Regions from separate parts of the Homo sapiens genome. Here region 1 is linked to region 2. The links are contacts of gene promoters, found by promoter capture Hi-C in blood cells and fetal thymus (Javierre and others, 2016). All regions are on one chromosome and are shown on one strand. The core of a region is centred on a gene start or on the middle of the fragment in contact, and the rest is flanking DNA. Distances in the headings are between cores, read along the strand shown.

Region 1 (3,650 bases), core at 687-3,186, 190 kb after region 2:
CTATAGTACACAAACAGCACCAAACAGGAAAGACTTGAGGAGTGCTACATTTTATAGCTGCCAAGTGACATATACTCAGTTAAAGGGCAGTTAGGACCAGCAGCAGACCAGCAGGAAGGTGTTGGACTAGCCCAGAGATCAAAGGCTGTGGGCTTAAAGCAGAGAAGCGGCCATCAGAATGGTGTCAAAGGATTGAGCCTAAGAGACATTTCAAAGTAGGAAATGACAGAAAAATCAAAGATGACTCCAAATTCTAGCATGTGAAAAGGAAAATAAATACTGGTGCCACTGAAAATACTGGGATAGTAGTTAAGAAGAACTGAGGTTTGGGAGTGAGGGAGGTGTAAAAGACTGGTGTGTTCACCATGACTAGTGAACTCTGTGGTAATGAGAGTGGCCACCCAAGTGAAGAAGTCCTGGAATCAGCTACAAACCAGGCTGTTGTCAGATGACAAAGTAGAAGAAAGGTTGGATTGTAGGTTTGCAAGTCAACTGGCATGCTGAAGGTAACTACTAATCAGAAAATCTCACGGAGAAATGAACAGAGAATGAAGGAGAGACCACAAAAAAAGAGAGGTAGGAACTAACACTTTTTAAGTATCTATGTGCCAGCCACTACATGAGCCACTTTGTATAAATTAAATACAGAAAAAATTGAGAGGTAGGAAACCTAGAAAGTTTCCTCTCACAAAGAGGAGTGCACCAATGACAAAGCCAAACATGAAAGGAAATTCAAGAGAATAAAGGCTGAGAAAAGAAAGGACACTGGCCTTGCCACTACAAAGGTTACTGGCACCCTCTGGGAGAGATTTCCAGTTGTGTGGTGGAAGCCGAGGCTACGATGTGGGTGGCTGAGAAGAGAAGGACAGATACAAACTGAAGGCCGTGAATAAGAAGTAGGCATTTAAGTCGCTGCGCAGCAAATGGACAAGATTCAATGGCTGCTAAAAAGGACAGAAGTGCCTTGCAGTGAGTGCTCTTTTTTTTTTTTTTCCCGAGACGGAGTCTCGCTCTGTCGCCCAGGCTGGAGTGCAGTGGCGCGATCTCAGCTCACTGCAAGCTCCGCCTCCCGGATTCACGCCATTCTCCTGCCTCAGCCTCCCGAGTAGCTGGGACTACAGGCGCCCGCCACCACGCCCGGCTAATTTTTTGTATTTTTAGTAGAGGCGGGGTTTCACTGTGTTAGCCAGGATGGTCTCGATCTCCTGACCTCATGATCCGCCCGCCTCTGCCTCCCAAAGTGCTGGGATTACAGGCGTGAGCCACCGCGCCCGGCCGAGTGCTCTTAATCCTTTGCTTATTTTAGTAATAGGAAAACACTGGCCAACAAACCCAAAAGTCAAAGGTTAGGGCCTACATATCATATGATTCAAGGTAATGCAATTATGGGAAAATGGAAGACACAATTTAGTTTTTGCAGGCTAAATTTCCATCACCAGCAAATCTAGTTCAGCTATAAATATAACAAATTAACATACACTGATTGGAGCATATTTCACCTGCTTTATAGTTGAAAAGCTAACATCTCTCAAAACTCAATGCTAAAGAGACTAATAACAAAAATACAAAAAAACCCATAAAAAATTATAAATATTTTATACTACCTTTCCCAAACCGTAAACCATATTTTGAAAAAGCATCTAAAAGACCAATCACAATCATCTGAAAATCTGCTTTAGGAATTGTGGAGCTACTGGATTTGATTATAATGTTGGCAAAAACACTTGCTGCTTCAATGGAAAATATTTTCATCAATATTTCCAGTGATGGGCTCTAAGTTGAGATAGTACAATTCATTCATGAAACTTGCTAAGTTACAATTTATGCACTAGTTTCTACTCAAAATGGTAAGGGTAATCATTCTTCAATCTTTCACCTAAAGAGTAAAACTCTTCTAGGTGGACAACAGGGAACAGGTAAACTTAGAATTGCCAAAGAATATTACGTCTTGAGTATAACTCTTAGTGGTATTGTATGGCTAAGTTGTTCAAAACAGACCAGAGGTGAGTTTCTGCTAAATTCACTTTTCTATCCACTGCTAGCTGGAATCAACTTTTTTCACATTCTAGGAAATGATTACTATATTTGCTCTTGCCAAAATGCTCTCACCATTTTGTTACTATTAGATAATAATCCATTAATAGTAAATTTAATTACTTCAAGAAGGAACACAGTTTATTTATAAAGAATCTTTTTTTTTTTTTTTTTTTTTTTTTTTTTTTGAGATGGAGTCTTGCTCTGTCACCCAGGCCGGAGTGCAATGGCGCAATCTCAGCTCACTGCAACCTCCGCCTCCTGGGTTCAAGCGATTCTCCTGTCTCAGCCTCCCAAGTAGCTAGGATTACAGGCGCCCACCACCACACCCAGCTAATTTTTGTATTTTTAGTAGAGATGGGGTTTCACCATGTTGGTCAGGCTGGTCTCGATCTCCTGATCCCAGGTAATCCGCCCATCTCAGCCTCCCAAAGTGCTGGGATTACAGGTGTGAGCCACTGCTCCCGGCCAAGAATCATTTTATTTAAATAAACTGCCTTGCAGTCAGGGAGGAAGAGAGCTGACACTTAGTGCTTACCGCACTAGGCACCATGTGATATGATACCTCTTCCATCCCACCACCATTTGAAATATTCCCATTTTAAAGGTCAGGAAATAAGAGACTCAAAGAAGTTATTTAACTTATCAAATATCACACAACTAGTAAATGACAGCCAAATCCATAACCTAAGTTATTCTGCCAACACACCGAGCTGCCTGCCATTCAAAAATAAAATATTTACATGTAAGGCTTTTTCCAAAATGGATTTCCTCATCTTCTATCATTTCTTCTTAGGCATTTCACTGAATGTCCTAAAGCCTCAATTCAGGAAAGAATTGAGATCACTTCTTAGAAAGTTTTTAGGTGAGGCGCAGCGGCTCATGCCTGTAATGCCAGCACTTTGGGAGGCTGAGGCAGGAGAATCGCTTGAGCCCAGGAGGTCAAGTTTACAGTGAGCCGTGATCACACCACTGCACTCCCGCCTGGGTGACAGAGTGAGAGACCCTGTATTTAAAAAAAACAAAACAAAACAAAACAAAACAAAACAAAACAAAACAAAACAGTTTCTAGAACCACCACCCAATGAATCAACTAACAAGAAGAAACCTATCTGAGAGCTTTTACTGATAACAGATCTTCATAAAAAGCTCTGGAGACCAACAGTAGTACATCTAGTCTACCTTATAAACTGTACAACTATTTTTACAATATTCTTTATTTTCGCAACACAAAATCAGGTGTCACAGTCTCTGACAGGGGTGAGTCCTAGGCTCTCTTGGGACTAGACTCTAAAGGACAGGCCCTCAGTGTGTGATGGAGTGAGTGAATGAATAAAGACACAGCCAGCATAAATGTTAATACAGCAGAGAGAAACTATGAATCTGGAGGACCCCCAAAATGAAAGCATAAAGCAACCTCCCTCAACAAATGTCATTTAAAAAGCCAGAATCATGTTTGAGTTATATAAAAAGTAATAGGACCGGGAGCAGTGGCTCATGCCTGTAATCCCAGCACTTTGGGAGGCTGGCACAGCAGATCGCTTGAGCCCAGGAGTGGGAGGCCAGCCTGGGTAACATGGTGAAACCTCGTCTCTACAAAACTTAGCTGGGCATGG
Region 2 (3,526 bases), core at 1,012-3,511:
AATGACAGGGAAGCATGCACCCAAGCTCTGTGTGAACCTGCTCCCTCCTCCCTCAGGGAGGGGCCTGTGGTCTCAGACTGACCTAGCTCGCTGCCTGGGAAATGGGCTCCTAGGGCAGAGGAATCCCAGGCCTCTCCCACCAGAGCTCCCTGAGTGGCCAAGAGACCTTTTCACAGTGCGGATCAGATCTGCGGTCTGCTCCCACTGGAGCAGCCTGTCTCTCGCCCAGAGCCTGGCTGGCTTTCCAAAGCTTTGGCACACATAGGCTACCTGCATGAATTTTGCCCCATCCACACATACAGCTATTTAATTGATATTTTTCCTTAAATGAACTTTAAGTAAGCTAACAATTTTTACTTGGCTTTATGTCCATAAAATCTTAGATCTGGGCCAGGTGCGGTGGCTCACGCCTGTAATCCCAGCACTTTGGGAGGCCAAGGTGGGCAGATCACGAGGTCAGGAGACCGAGACCATCCTGGCTAACAAGGTGAAACTCCCTTTCTACTAAAAATACAAAAAATTAGCCGGGTGTGGTGGTGGATGCTGGTAGTCCCAGCTACTTGGGAGGCTGAGGCAGGAGAATGGTGTGAACCTGGGAGGTGGAGCTTGCAATGAGCCGAGATCCAACCACTGCACTCCAGCCTGGGAGACAGAGCGAGACTCCATCTCAAAAAATAAAAAAAAAAATCTTAGGTCTGAAGTTCAGGTCATATTTTTCAGAATACACATTAAAATAAGTAAATAACCACTAAAACAAGCCATGTCTGTCTGTGAACTCCCCTGAGTCACCTTGGGTTCTGTACTTTGGGAACCCACGGCCTCCAAGCTAAATCACCTGCTGACATGTATGGAGTGCTTATCACTGGACATCAATCACAGTGACTTTATGAGGGGGGCATGCGACTTATTCCCATGTTTACATAGGAGGAAACTGCAGTAGATGGAGGTTAAGTGACTTCTCCATGTCTCCTATCTGGGAGGTGGCAGAGCTGGGTTTGAAGCCAGGCAGGGTGGCCACGCAGACCGTACCAACAGTCATGACACTTGGGGACTTGTCCTGAAACAAGGCCATGGGCCCCCAACGCCCACTCCTATTCTCTTCACACACGCTGCCCTCATGCCACAGGGGCCTAACATATTCCTCCATTGCCCCATCTGGACTCTTCCCACCTCCTACTTATCCTTTTGTCTCTGCTGGGCCTCCTCCAGGAAGCCCTCCCTGATCCCCAGGCCAGGCTGGGGCTCCTGGTGCTGCTCTCCTGAGTCCAGGGTTAGATCCCAGCCTGTAGCTGGTTTGTGTGGTGATATGTCCTTGGGTTGTCTCTCCCATGAGGGCACGGAGGGGTCAGCCTCATTCACTGCTGCATCCCAGGGCCTGAAGAAGGCCCTGCCGCAGAGCTTGTGCTCAGTTTCTCTTTGTGGAAATGACAGGGGGTCCCTGGAAGGAGGCAGGGAAGGCTGGGCAAGGACAGGGTGCCACGTGGCAAGCTGGGCTCTTGGCCTGGTTGCAGTGGGGCCCGGGGAAAGCTGCCTGCCCTGCCTGGAGCTCAGTCTGCTCATTTGTGAAATAGGAGCAGCCCTCCCTGTCTGACTGCAACCTGAGAGGGTTGTGGTACCAGGACAGGAAGGGATGACAACTAGGGAGGAATCCCTGCCCTCACCTGTGCTTGCAGGTGCACAGACCGGCTGCCGAGAGCCTGTATGTGCTGGTCTCATGAGAATCACTCCATTGTCTCATTGAATCCCTGCCATGCCCCTGTGTCATCCACAGGCAGCAGAGGGGAAAGCTGGAGCTGGGCAGGTCTGGGATTTGAGTCCAGCCCCTCTGGCTGCAGAGGTGGAGGCTGCCATTCCCCTCCAGGGTGGCTTTGGCCACACTCACCAGCTTCCCACTGACTGTGGCTGTGAGCACATCAGGCCCCCGGTCCTGGAGCTTCCCAGCCACCACCATCTCTGAGCCCTTGAAGAGGAGCCGGAAGTTGTTCTGAGTGACCTCCTCCACGGCATTGCTTGGGTACTCGAAGGTCACTGCTGTCAGCAGTGGGTTGGCCACTTCCTGGTAGAAGTCCTGCAGGGTTGGGGGTGTCATAAAGGCTGGGCTTTATGACTGCCCACTTCTCTGTGCAGCCCACCTGGGGCACACTGGCACCTGGAGCTGCAGGGCAGAGTCTGAGTCCTCATGGATGCGCCGGGCCAGGCCGCCATTGTCCAGTGCCAGCTTCTCCAGGAAGGCATAGCTGACGTCGAAACCGAAGCCCAGGCAGAAGAGGCTGTACCGGCCACTTACAGCTTCCCGCACGTTATTCTGGATGCTCCTGGGGTTAGTCTCCCCTGGACCCAGGGGTTTGGGATGAGGGTGAGAAAATAGTGATTTGCTTGAAGAATATTTCTGGAACCTCAGAGCCGAGGGGCCTCAGTGACCCCCTCTCCCTGCCCAGATCCCACAGCAAGCCCAGGTGCAGCCCCAGCCGCCTCCCCTGTGCAGCACGTCCTGGAGTCACGGGCAGGGCCCTCACCCACAGTGGGGTCGCCATCGGTGAGCAGGATGATGAGTGAGACACTCCCTTCGGGCAGCCGCTCCTCCTGGTTGCTGCTGTCCAGCAACTGCACAGCCATCAGCATTGCATCATTGATGTTGGTCCCTGAGGAACACGCACTCTCAAGGTGGTCCCCAGCCAGGAGCCCTGGAAGCCCCCACCCTGCAGGGCCACAGAGACACTTACCTCCCAGGGCCTGGATGCCCGCAGCAAAGCTCCTGGCCTTGTTCACGTTCTCGGCTGAGGCTGGCACCAGTGATGGCCTCCACTGAGTTGCTTCTGTACTGAAGACGATGAGGTTGAACTGGTCTCTGGGGCTGAGGTCATCCAGGATCTTGATTAGGGCTTCCCGGGTCTGGTCAGGGAGAGGAAACATAGGTGCTTCAGAAGGGCTCCCTGAGGGCTCGTGTGCCCTAGGGCTGGCATCCTTGGACTCCTGTCTCAGGGGTGAGGTCATGGTATCTGCTCTAGGAACAGGGGCTGCCCTAGGCTCTGGCCAACCTTGGTTCCTGAGAGCCACCCGCCCCATGGTGCCGAAAGGTGAAGCAAGGGGGTCTGCCTGCCGGACCACAGCTGATAGCGTGAAGGGCCTGGGAGTTTTCAGGGCCCTGCCCTGGGCCACAGGACCTACCTGCTGGATTTTCCTGCCACTCATGGAGCCGCTCTTGTCAATGACAAAGACCACATTCTTGGGCATTGTGGTTAGGCCCTCGGGGGCAAAGTAGTGTACAAAGTAGCCGTTCTCGATCTGTGGCCAGAGTGAGACCCACCCAGGCCATCAGAGCTACAATTGGCCCTATCCCCATTCAGCCCCTTTACCCCAAATTCTGGGTTTCTGTGCTCTGTTCCAATCCCATTTCCATCCCACTGCTAACCTCCCCAAAACCTTGCCCTTTTTCAGGGCTCAGACCAGCCCCTTTCTTGCGGAAGCCTTCCCTGCTCATGCATAGCCCACCAGAACTCTCCCTGCAACTTTTCCTTCTATTTGT

Evidence for each region. The method cuts DNA at HindIII sites, captures the fragments that hold promoters and counts their contacts. A CHiCAGO score of 5 or more calls a contact.
Region 1: a contact is called between a fragment that was not itself captured here and the fragment with the promoter of ITIH4-AS1 in region 2, in 1 of 17 cell types (M1 macrophages). The highest score is 5.6, in M1 macrophages.

Annotation. Positions count from the first base shown.
Region 1 is chr3:53,011,425-53,015,074 of GRCh38, forward strand. The region is part of intron 1 of SFMBT1 (Scm like with four mbt domains 1); the gene reads right to left. Among named protein-coding and RNA genes, the nearest start is that of SFMBT1, 33 kb to the right of the region's middle. The HindIII fragment of the contact is 5,176 bases long and covers 1-3,650 here.
Region 2 is chr3:52,821,674-52,825,199 of GRCh38, forward strand. It overlaps ITIH4-AS1 (ITIH4 antisense RNA 1), which reads left to right and starts at 2,262. Exons shown (of 3, transcript NR_046615.1): 1 at 2,262-2,320; 2 at 2,439-2,664. It overlaps ITIH4 (inter-alpha-trypsin inhibitor heavy chain 4), which reads right to left. Exons shown (of 24, transcript NM_002218.5): 7 at 3,169-3,285; 8 at 2,724-2,892; 9 at 2,517-2,642; 10 at 2,150-2,331; 11 at 1,883-2,068. RefSeq lists a silencer at 2,586-2,743. The HindIII fragment of the contact is 13,495 bases long and covers 249-3,526 here.